Linked DNA regions of Homo sapiens: region 2 is linked to region 1. Evidence: promoter capture Hi-C in human tissues and cell types (Jung and others, 2019). All regions are on one chromosome and are shown on one strand. The core of a region is centred on a gene start or on the middle of the fragment in contact, and the rest is flanking DNA. Distances in the headings are between cores, read along the strand shown.

Region 1 (6,098 bases), core at 1,936-4,435:
GTCCAGCCTGGGCAGCATAGTGAGACTCAGTCTTTTTTTTTTTTTTCTCTGAGATGGAGTCTCACTCTGTCGGCCAGGCTGGAGTGCAGTGGCACAATTTTGGCTCACTGCAACCTCCACCTCCCAGGTTCAAGCGATTCTCCTGCCTTAGCCTCCTGAGTAACTGGGATTACAGGCACGTGCCACCACACCTGGCTAATTTTGTATTTTTAGTAGAGATGGGGTTTCACCATGTTGGCCAGGCTGGTCTCGAACTCCTGACCTCAAGTGATCCACCCACCTTGGCCTCCCAAAGTGTTGGGATTACAGGCATGAGCCACCGTGCCCGGCCGAGACTCAGTCTTTAAAATAATGAAGTAAAATAAAAACATAAACCTCAAACAAAAAGACAAACTATGATTTCAATCATTGTGAAGCTCTTGATCTAGTAGATGATATATATATATATATATATACATATACCAAAAATACTATAATTTCAGAGAAGTGCTATAGAGTCTAATGTTTAACAACTTCTGGCATTTGACTGATGGTGTTTAAAGCTCTTCCCGCATTTTCCAGGGGTATAAATCGAGGCAAGTTATTTGGTATTTACTGCATTTTGGCTTCTTCATATGCAAGGGGGTTATGATAATAATACCTACCCCATGAGGACGGTATGAGGACTAAAGAAAATCGTGTATGTATAGCCTCGGCCAATGCCCATAGACACTGAGTACTCAACTAGGTGTTAGCTAGCAGATTTTAAATTTGCATTTATTCGTATAGTTTTTAAGGTAAAATTTACATTCATTGAAATGTTAACTGTATGTTTTTTGACAAATGAATACACTTATATAACTCATATCCCTATCAAGACAGAGACCATTTTTACCACCCAGAAATTTCTCTCATGTAACTTCCCAGTCAATCCCCTGCCAGAGGGAACCACTGCTATGATTTTTTCACCACAGATTAATTTTCCCCTTTCTAGAATTTCAAATAAATGGGAAGGTATGTGCTCTTTTGTGTCATTTATCTTCACAGACTTTGAAATAAAAAAGTTACAATTTTAAACCTTTTGGGCATTTAGTAAAAATCTCCTTCCCACCAGTAGCCACCAGTCACCAGTCTTCATTTCTCTCTCTCTCTCTCTCTCTCTTTGAGACAAGATCTTGCTCTGTCATCCAGGCTGGAATGCAGTGGCATGATCATGGCTCACTGCAGCCTCAACCTCCTGAGCTCAAGCAATCCTCCCACCTCAGCCTCCCAAATAGCTGGGAGTACAGGTGCCCGCCACCACGCCTGGCTAATTTTGCTTGTATTTTATGTAGAGACAGGGTCTCACCAAGTTGCCCAGGTTAGTCTCAAACTCCTGAGCTCAAATGATCTGCGGGCCTTGGCCTCCCAAAGTGCTTGGATTACAGGTATGAGCCACTGTGCCTGGCTCAGTCTTCCTCTCTTAAAGCAACCAATGTTATTAGTTTTATGTGGGCCACCCCATGGCTTATCATTATTAATTCAGGTGTTTATACAAGGCTCTTTGAGAACTCAGTTTTAAAGGTTACCCAAAGCATCCTAAGACAACTCAGCCTAAAACGATATAAAATCAGTTTTAATATAACTGAAGTTTCTACATTCTGACTCCAACTGTCAGATTGTGACATTTTCTCTTTCTCTGACTTTATGCCAAATTTACTTCAACTTCTAGCATCCATCATTCTCATTTATGAACAAATATGTATTTAACAAATGTGGAAATACAAATCATGAAGCAAACAAAACCAAACCCTGGGCTTACGTAGCCGATAGTAAAAAATTCACCAAAATAACCACCCGATTACAGTTTCATGCAATGTGATAGGAGTAAGGGACCACCATAGGGAGGTCAGAAGGTGCTTTTCAGAGGTGGAGACTACAGCTGTTCTCAGAAGAATAGGGGTTAGAAGAACTTTCCAGGCACAGAGCAAAGCATGAGCAAAAGCTCTGTGGAGGCCAGGAAGCTGGTAAATAGGGAATAAAAGAGGCCAGTTTGGCTGGAGCAGAGAGAGCAGAACAGAATTGGTCTGAGTAGTGAGAAGAGATGAAGAAGTGGGCAAGGCGCCTGGCCATTCGGGGCTTGGTTAGTTAGGAGGTTTTGTCTAAGAGAATGGGAAGGTGTTTAAGTGCTTTAGGCTGGGAAGTGACACGGTCACATTATATTTTGGAAAAGCCACTCTGCCTGTTGTGTTGAGATTAGAGAGGCGATAAAGGGGATATGGGTAAACCACAAGAAGACTAGGTCAGTAGTCCCTCGACCCTCACTCCCCAGGTGAAGGCAGCCTAGACTAGGGTGGTGACGGAGGAGATAGAAGAGGACAGATTCAAGGAAAATTTGGAAGGTAAAAACCAGTAGGATTTGCTGACGGATGGAGTATAGGAGGGGAGAGGTAGATTATCAGGGATGTATCTTAGTTTTCTTATACAAGATAGATTCAGTTGCAATGAAATTGTTAACTGAAATTGACTTTAAATAATGGCATGACCTAAAGTTATGCAAACATTTGCCTTAGATAAAATATCAAGTTTTCAAAGTTTTTAGCTGGGTGGACGGCATGGCTTTACTTCCTATTTCTTGGTATTCTAATCCTGTTGAAAAAAAAAGTTTTTCTTTTTCTCAAAGGCTTATTTCAGTGGAAGCCCATCTGCAAAATCTGTTAATAAATTTAAATTAGAAAATAACTACAAGTGCCATTGACACATTGGTTATTCTTTTTGAGAGTGACCTAAGGCCACCTCTGGGAGAGCTGGGGGCTCTTCTGAAGCCTGCCCGACTGCACCGCGTGCCCGTGCCTGGAAGTCAGATTCGGGGCGGTGCGGCAGCGCGAGGCCTGCAGTCCTAAGCGCGGGGTCGCTCCAGCCCCAGAGGGGGTGTGTCTCCTGCCTCTTCAACCTGGCAGGGGCTGTTCAAGTGGCCGGGGAAACCAGCGATTTGGAGGGTCGAGGGCTGGTGCTTTGAAAGACAGGCGGAGGGGAGAGAGGGATTTCCCCGTCCCCGCTGCACTCGGTCCTTCCCCTGGGTTACTCCTTTCCTCCGCCTGCGCGGCCCCTAACCTGCTCGAACCCGTTGTGCAGAAGAGGCCGCCGGGTCCCTTTAAGGCCCCGCCGCGCCTGCGCCTTGGGTTATCCTGACACGCCCATCGGGATCCTGAGGAGCCAGTGGGCTGCAGGCGCAGGCGCAGGCGAGGGGCTGGGTGGCGGTTGAGACAGCGGCGGTACTGGGAGGCGTAGGTGAGGGTCGCGAGGCTGCCCGAGCTTCTGAGCGAGCGCGGTGCTTTTGGGAACGCGGGACGGGCGATCTGCGGCGCCAGGAGCTGGGCCGAGGCGCGGCGGCGCGGCTGCCGGCTGCCCTGTGAATGGGAAGTTACGCGAAGTCCACCCAGCGTTTCTGAGGTGAGGGCGCCGCGCCAGGCTGGGCGGGCGGTGAATCCGGGACCCGCGGGCGCACAGCTGGGTCGAGGCGCGGCCGTGGCAAGTTTTGTTGCGCGAGCGCGGGGGCGGGTGGGGGCTGTGGGGGGTCGTGCACCGCCGGGGCCTGAGTTCCCCGCGCTGGATTCTTCGCCTGCCGCTGCCGCCCGCAGCCCAACTCTCGTGGGCGCTGGGGAAGAAACTCGCTGGCGGGTGTTCTGTGGCATCCCAGGGGGTGGAGGGACGGAGCAGCTTCGGGGGCACGTCCTCCTATATCCTGTAGAGGACACTGACCCCGCACCCCACCCTCCAGGCCAGAAATCCGTTCCCTCTGCGGACCTGAGAGGCGAGCGCGCTCGCGCCCCTGACTTGCAAAGTTGGGGTCTTTACTGGCCTCCGGGCTTCTGCTCCTGGCGGTGTCTCCAGGCTGGTGATGGGCAAGCCAGGTGTGCCAGCTCCAGGATGCACATGAGCAGCATTTGTAGCCATCACTGAATCACCTCCTGACTAGCGGGGCAAGCCTCAAATGAACCGCAGGATTTCGGGTAGATTGGATTGTGGGGTTGCTGTTTGCACTCCAAAGAGTTGCTGTGATTTCCCTGCGTCTGGCTGGCTGGCTGGCTTCTTAGATCATCTCATGTGGCGTCCTTTCAGCGGAGAGTTAACCAAGACGTTTGGCCTGGCTTCCTTGTTTTCCTCCTATCTTTTGCTTAGAGCTGCTTTCGAAAAGAAGTCTTTTCTGGCAGTGGTATCTTTTCTTTGGGTTACAGTGTTGTTCATCCTTTCTTTGCCAAAAGAATGAATCCCAGTGCTTCAGGAAGTTAAAGAAAAGATCTGCTGGTAGTGTTCTGAGCTGATATGCGTTAGTAGCTTTTTGTTTTTAAATTCTATTGGTAAAATTTCACTAGTGAACCAGAAGCTACTTTTTCTATTCTGAAATGCTAGCTTTAAGATTTCTGAGAACTTTGCGTCAAAGAAATCTTGGAAAAGTTACTGAAGTATACAGAAGTTCACAATTTTACATGTGCAGGTGGCCCGGGCGCAGTGATCACACCTGTAATCCCAGCACTTTGGGACGCCAAGGTGGGTAGATCACTTGAGCCCAGGATTTCCAGACCAGCCTGGGCAATGTGGCAAAACCCTTTCTCTACTAAAAATACAGAAGTTAGCTGTGTGTGGTGGCGTGTGCCTGTAGTCCCAGCTACCCGGTAGGCTGAGTTGGGAGGATCACCAGAGCCCGGGAGGTTGAGATTGCAGTGAGCCGTGATCATGGCAGTGCACTCCGACCTGGATGGCAGAGTGAGACCCTGTCTCAAAAAAAAAAAAAAAAAAGTAATGAATTTTTACCAAGTGAACCACCACAGATCAAGAAATTGAACATTACTAGTCTGGGGTATATTTGTAGGGGTGGCATTGTTGGTTTTAGAGGTATATGAATGATAAAACTTTAGTATTACATATTGTTGAACATTTTCCCAAAGTAGTTGTACCATTTAGCAGGGATATGCTGGTTACCCCACATCTTCGCTGATACCTGTCAGTTAAAAATTATTTTGCCATTCTAGTAGGGGTGCAGTAATATATCAGTGTGGTTTCATTGAGATTGAGTATCTTTTATTGCCATTTATATGTCCTCTTTTGTGACGTGCCTGTTAAATCTTTTTATCCAGTTTTCATTGATATGCTTGTTTTCCTGTTGATTTGTAATACTTTATTCTGGATATGCCTCCTTTCTAGGATTTATATGTATTGCATTTCCCTTTTTTCAATCTGTAGCTTGCGTTTTCACTCTTTTATGGTGTTTTTTCATGAAGGGAGATTCTCTTTTTTTTTTTTTCTTTTTGAGACAGGATCTCACTCCATCGCCCAGGCTGGAGTGCAGTGGCACAATCACAGCTCACTGCAACCTTGACCTCACAAGGCTCAGGTGATCCCCCTGCCTCAGCCCCCAAGTAGCTGGGACCTACAGGGGAGTACCACCACACTCAGCTGTTTTCTGTATTTTTAGTAGAGATGGGTTTTGCCACGTTGCATAGGCTGGTCTGGAATTCCTAGGCTCAAGTGATACACCTGCCTCGGCCTCCCAAAGGGTTGGGATTACAGGCATGAGCCACTGCACCCAGCCTGAGATTCTTCATTTTAATGAAATTATACTTTATTAATCTTTTCCTTTATGGTTACTGTTTTTTGTGTCCTGTTTAAGAAATCAATGCCTAACCTAAGAGTATGAACACATTTTTCTGTGTTAACCTTATAACGATTTTATTTTAGTTTTTGCTTTTTTTTTTTTTCAGACAGGGCCTCAGTCTATTATTGCCCAGGCTAGAGTGTGGTGGCAGGATCTCAGCTCACTCAACCTCCATCTCCTGGCTCAAGTGATCCTCCCACCTCAGCCTCCTGAGTAGCTGCGACTATAGGCATGTGCCACCATGCCTGGCTAATTTTCATATTTTTTGTAGAGATGGGGATTCAACATGTTTCCCAGGTTGGTCTCGAACTCCTGGGCTCAAGTAATCTGCCCGCTTCAGCCTCCCAGAGTGCTGGAATTACAGGTGTGAGCCACCCCACCTGGCTATGATTCACTTTTTACTACATGGATGTGTCTGCTTGATCCAGCACCATTTATTGAAAAGACCATCCTTTTCCTTCCGCACCATGTGGCACTTTTTTTC
Region 2 (6,098 bases), core at 2,471-4,970, 260 kb before region 1:
TCTCTTTCTTACGACAAGCTATTCCTGAATGTGCATATTTGAGGCTAAGCAAATCCCTTCCTGGGAGGTTGAAAGACCCTTATTTCTCTCCAGAGGAGTATTATGGAGAGTCAATTGATGCTGAGGAGGTGGTAGAGACCTAGCGAACTCAACTGCAGTGGCTTTGAGCAAGGCTCTTAGAATCATAAGGTGGGTGGGGTCCTGTGTCCTACACCACACGCCAGCTGGTTCACTTCAGGAGACTTTTTTTTAATCTATTATTACTATCTTCTTCTAGACTGTAGTTCACTACTGGAGATTATCCACTTAGTTGCACTCAGTTTGCACCTGGCCTGTATCACCAGTCAGCTCTCACTCCAGCCTCAGGTATCAGCAAGACCTCACCAAAGATTATTGTTTAATTGTATGTGTGTGTGTTTTTGTTTGTTTCGGGTAACAACTAATGTTGGAACTATGAAAAACTCTTCTCTACTTTTAACAAAGCTTAGTCACAAACAGTTCCCCAGTTGATGAGAAAAACTAAAACAACAGAACAATTGAAAGTCTGAATCTGCAAGTTCATCTCTGAGAACCGAATTTTACAGCCACTCCAGATTTGTACTCCAAATGGATAGTTTGACTGTAGAAATCACATCCCTTCAGTCTGCCAATGTGATAACTGCCCAAGAGAGAGTGATGCCTACATTCATAGATAATCCCCTTTCCCCCATCCTATATATAACTGGAGTCAACAGCAGCTGGAGGAAAATGGCAAGAACTTGGAATCAAGATTAGCTTAGAATAACACTGCTGTAGACGGTTTATCAGCTCTTCAGCATATGTCCGTTTTCCTTGAAGGATGAGCCTTTAGAAACCTCTGACAATAAAGTTTATTTTACACCCATTCCCTTGCCTATGATTTTTTTCATACAAATCACAATTATTAAACTTTCTTGCTCCAGCTAAAAGCAGGAAACTCAATCAGAATGTGTTCACTAAATATATACCACAGAATGATAACAACCAGTCTGAATGCATCACTTGATTCCAAAATTAAATGTTAGCCCTCAGGGGTGCAACTACATGTATCTCCAACTCTGGAAGCCACAGGCAACATATTCCTGTTTCCTTGCAGGGAAACAGATCTATAAGCAGGGCGGCAGTCTGACACATGTACATTCCTGGGAAACCCAAGGAAACAATGATAGTGACGCAGGGCAGGCAAGCCCCCAAACTGAAAGAGTTTTGCTAATGTCGCGATTGGCTTTCTATGTTATTTGAAGACTGAGATCTCCATGAGGAGTGAAGATAGGTAATGCCTAAGGCTGAGGCATGACCTCACTGGGTCACCTTAGCTGTGAAGTGAGGTCAGTTGTCACCTTGCAAACCTTTTGGTAATCCAAATCTTGGAATGATTTCTTTAAGAATTTAGACACTTCCAGTACTTTTCCTGTCCTTGTGGGGAAAGCTTCTATCCACCTGGTGAAAGTGTCTATAAATACTAGCAAATCTTGTACTCCCCTGTAAGGTGGCATCTGGGTTAAGTCTGTCTGCCAGTCTTCACCATGGTATGTTCCTTGGTGTTGTACAGGTTTAAGCAGGGATCGGGGTATGGGGTGGCTTCCTGAGTGGTAACCCTTTTTATAGTTTGGAACAGTCCCTTCCGCAAGAATATTTAGGAAACTAATTTAAATGGAAAATCCTGTCCCAAATGTGAGGAATCATGAAAATGTTTAATTATTTCCCATTTGTCAGCCTCAGGAATAGAGTTTGTTCTTTTCTAGCAACCATCCAGAGGGGTCTCCCTGGAAGCCTTTTACTCAGTCCCTTTAATTTCCTTAGGGGTATAGTATGGTGTCACTGACACGGATGCAGTACCTGGTAGTAGCGCAGCAGCCTGAAATACCAGGGTTTCCTTAGCTGTGGCCTTAGCTGCTCTTTCCACCAGGGAATTTCCTCTAATAATAAAAGTGTCTCCCTTCTGGTGTCCCCTGCAGTGAGTAATTGTTATTTCTTTGGGAGTTGGACAGCATCTAAAAGTTCCAAGATCTGAGTAAAGTTGTGTGGGGGATCCCTTGGCTCTTGATAGTCCCCTTTCCTTCCCTATGGCTGCATGAGCATGGAGCACCAGGAACCCATATTTAGAGTCAGTCAACACATTGACTCTTGAGGTTTTGGTTTTCTTCTTCTTTTTTTGAAACGGAGTCTTGCTGTGTCGCCCAGGCTGGAGTGCAGTGGCATGATCTCAGCTCACTGCAATCTCAGCTCACTGCAAACTCAGGGATTCTCATGCCCCAGCCTCCCAAGTAGCTGGGATTACAGGCGCACCCCACCACACCCGGCTAATTTTTGTATTTTTAGTAGAGACGGGGTTTCGCCATGTTGGCTAGGCCGGTCTCGAACTCCCAACCTCAGGTGATCCACCCACCTTGGCCTCCCAAAGTGCTGGGATTACAGGCGTGAGCCACCGTGTCCAGCTTAAGTCTTTTCATGGTTGGAAGGCCCTAATTAGAGCAGCTAATTCTGCTTTTTGAACAGAAGTCTGAGAAGGTAAACCCTTGGCCTCAATGACTTCTTGTTGGCTAAGCTTCCTTTCTTACTCCCTCATGAATATAGCTATTTCCATCTCTAAACCACTCAACATTTGGGTTAGACAACAGCTTGTCTTCAAGGTTGGGCCTTCTAGAGTAGAGCTCTTCCGTGGTTTCCACACAGGAGTCAATGAGTTTGGGATCTGTTTCTTGAGATGTGAGGTGCAGCAACAGAGTAGCAGGGTTTCAAAATCAGGATACTTTCAGGGTAACATCTGGGGTGTCAAGCAGAAGGGTCTGATATTTAAGTAACTGGCTCCCTGTTAGCCATTGGTGTACTTTTGCCTCTAGGACCCTCTGTACTGTACTTCATGGGGTGGCAGGGGGTGGGGGTGGGGTGGTATGGCATGTAATTTTTGTCCCAAGGTAAACTTACTGGTTTCTTCTAACAATAAAGTGATGGTAGCCACAGATCTCAAGCTTCCTAGTCACCTAGCTGCCACCTGGTCTAGCTGTTTAGAGAAATAAGCCACTGGTCCAAAGCAATTCCTCAGCCTTTGAATTAGAACATTTGAAGCTGTCCCTTGTTATTCATCCACATAGAGGGTGAAAGGTTTTTCTAAGTTCGAGAGTCCTGAGGCAAGGGATGTCCCTGGCTTTTCTTTTAAGGCTAAGAATGCCTTTTGACAGGTTCCAAGCTCCGCCTCCTGGGTTCACACCATTCTCCCGCCTCAGCCTCCTGAGTAGCTGGGACTACAGGCGCCCGCCACCACAGCCAGCTAATTTTTTTGTATTTTTAGTAGAGACGGGGTTTCACCGTGTTAGCCAGGATGGTCTCGATCTCCTGACCTCCTGATCTACCACCTCGGCCTCGCAAAGTGCTGGCATTACAGGCGTGAGCCACCGCACCCGGCCAACAAGTTTTTTTTTAAATGAACAGAGCATCAGTGAATGACAGTGCAAGTTTAAGACACCTAATAGACAAGTTAAAGGAGTCCTCCAGGCAGAAGGAAACTGACACCAGATGAAAATCTGGATGAAAAAAAAAAGACACTAGAAATGACATGTACATAGGCAAATATATAATTTTAACATCTGACTGTTTAGCCGGGCACGATGGCTCACGCCTGGAATCCCAGCACTTTGGGATTCAAGGAAGGTGGATCACTTGAGGTCAGGAGTTTGAGACCATCCTGGCCAATATGGTGAACCTTCCTCTCTACTAAAAATTCAGAAATTAGTCCGATATGGTGGCCCAAGCCTGTAGTCTCTGCTACTCAGGAGTCTGAGTCAGGAGAATCGCTTGAACCCGGAAAGCAGAGGTTGCAGTGAGCCAAGACTGTGCCACTGCACTCCAGCCTGTCCGATAGAGTGAGACTCGTCTTAAAAACACCACCACCAGCAACAAAAAAACAAAAATAAACAAACAAACAAAAACACATCTGACTCTTGAAACAAAAGTAATAGAGATGGATTGTAAGGTTTATAACAGGTGTAAAGTAAAATGCATGACAATAGCATAAAGGCAGGGGGAGGAGTCATGGGAAGAGGTATGATGCCACTTGAAGGCAGACTGTGATGGGTTAATTTTTGTGGAAAGCAAGGCAGAATTTTTGAAGTTTGTTCCTTCAAATACTTTCCGTTTCCCGTACATACAAGCTAGTTTGTTCTGCAGAGATCTCATTTTCTAGGAGGCTTGGAGGGGGACCTTCTGCTGTCTGTCCTCATGGGATGCACAAGACACAAGGGAACAGTCTTTCACTTTTAAATACATTGAAGGGTCTGAGGAGATAGATACAACTGCATTTTTTTTTTTTTAAATGAGGTGGGATTCTCACTGGTCTTGAACTTCTGAGCTCCGTGGAGGCTTCCCCTACTTCAGCCTATCAAAGCGTTGGGATTAATAGACGTGAGGCACTGCGCCTGGTCACAACCAACATTTAAAATCACGTCCCTGGGTGGTCTCTAACCACCAACCTTATGGTTAACAGCCGAACGCGCTAACCGATTGCACCACAGAGACAACCTCAATCGCTTGCTTTCATCTCTATATAGATTAAGCAATCACTAAACCCTAGGAGTTGCCATTCGCTTTCTGCGGGACAACTGTGCAGACTACAAAGCTTCAGAAAACCGGAGAGGCTGAGTCGACTAATCGTCTTGCTGCACGTTAGAAACGCGTGCATTGCGTGACTCTGAAGCCAGAAGGGCGGCCGAATGGCCTTCACCCTGCGTTCACCCTCGCCTGCTTCAGAAGCCAGTGCCTCTGGAAATGCCTGGATCTGCGACCCCAGCCTGAGCCAAGTAGGGCCCAAGGGAAGCTGAACTCCCCGACGGCTCTCACGGTAGCTCTTTCTGTTCTTTTGCGCCGCCTTCAGGCAATCATCTGTTCCGCTTGCTCTCCCTTCACTCAACTCGGCTTCAGTAGATGGGGTCGGTGGGGCGGGAGCGGGAAAGAGGCAGGGGAGTCAAAAGGGAAAACGTGACAAGGAGGAGGGAGAAGCAGGGGAGACCAGGACTAGACAATGGGACAGCCCAGGATGCCCGTGCAGAGGGCACCGGCTGGATGCAGAGAAGATGGGACATGTATCAGAATGGAGAGGGGGAAATGGGGAGAAGATGTGAGAGAAAATCACAAGAACCTGTAGCTGCCCAAGAATAAAGAAGTAAAAATCGCATAATGTTTTTACATTAATAAAAAAAATCGGGGGACCAGGGGCGGTGGCTCACGCCTGTAATCCCAGCACTTTGGGAGGCCGAGGTGGGTGGATCACTCACTTGAAGTCAGGAGTTCGAGACCAGCCGGGCCAACATGGTGAAAGCTCGTCTCTACCACAAATACAAAAATTAGCTGGGCGTGGTGGTGCACGTTTGTAGTCTCAGCTACTTAGGAGGCTGAGGCAGGAGAATCGCTTGAACCTAAGAGGCGGAGGTAGCAGTGAGCCGAGATCGTGCCGCTGCCCTCCAGCCTGGGCGACAAAGCGAAATTCTGTCTCTCAAAAAAATATACAAATAAATAATAGAGGGGTGGGGAAGCAAAACGACGGGCAGTAGGTGTGGGGCGCCTTGGGATTCTCTAGTGGTTAGTAGTCTGCGTTGTGCCTGCAGCAACCTCTGTTCTAATCGGAATCCTGGTACAGTCAGACTCTATCTTGGACCCACTGGGGCGAACCCACGTGTCTTTTGGTTTGCTTTTGATTCCTGCACCAGCTGAGGCCTTTATCTGCAGCCAGAAAGCCGGAAAGCAGGGTTTACCCCTGGCCCCACAGCGCCATACTGTCTGGGGAAAAGAAGGAAACCCAAGAGTACACAAACAGTGGCCCAAAGAGAAACCTTCCAAGTGCTCTATGCCTCACCGTTTAGCAGAAAATATCAAGCAACTCTCAATCTAGCTGGTCTGTACCTTCCACGAATGAAATAATGTATTTATTGCAGTCTTTCTGGTTGAGATATTTCAAATATTTGGTGGAGCTTTTACTGAGAGAGAGAGACACTCTCGAGTGTGGAAGAAAAAAAAGAGGGGATGTGAAGATGAGGCGACTTTAGGACAGAAAAAAAAAGAGACAAGGAAGCCATGTAAACGTTTTC

What was found. The method cuts DNA at HindIII sites, captures the fragments that hold promoters and counts their contacts. A contact is called where the count stands out against the background at its distance.
Region 2: a contact is called between a fragment that was not itself captured here and the fragment with the promoter of NBPF1 in region 1, in 14 of the 25 tissues and cell types used here (H1 embryonic stem cells, IMR-90 fibroblasts, adrenal gland and 11 more).

The regions. Positions count from the first base shown.
Region 1 is chr1:16,610,651-16,616,748 of GRCh38, reverse strand. NBPF1 (NBPF member 1) reads left to right here and starts at 3,185. Exons shown (of 18, transcript NM_001405701.2): 1 at 3,185-3,411. RefSeq lists an enhancer at 2,384-3,341. The HindIII fragment of the contact is 9,860 bases long and covers 1-6,098 here.
Region 2 is chr1:16,873,898-16,879,995 of GRCh38, reverse strand. LINC03126 (long intergenic non-protein coding RNA 3126) reads right to left here. Exons shown (of 2, transcript NR_160658.1): 2 at 5,900-6,098. Among named protein-coding and RNA genes, the nearest start is that of TRE-TTC3-1, 4.4 kb to the right of the region's middle. RefSeq lists enhancers at 4,219-4,781, 4,782-5,345 and a silencer at 4,787-4,945. The HindIII fragment of the contact is 3,425 bases long and covers 2,008-5,432 here.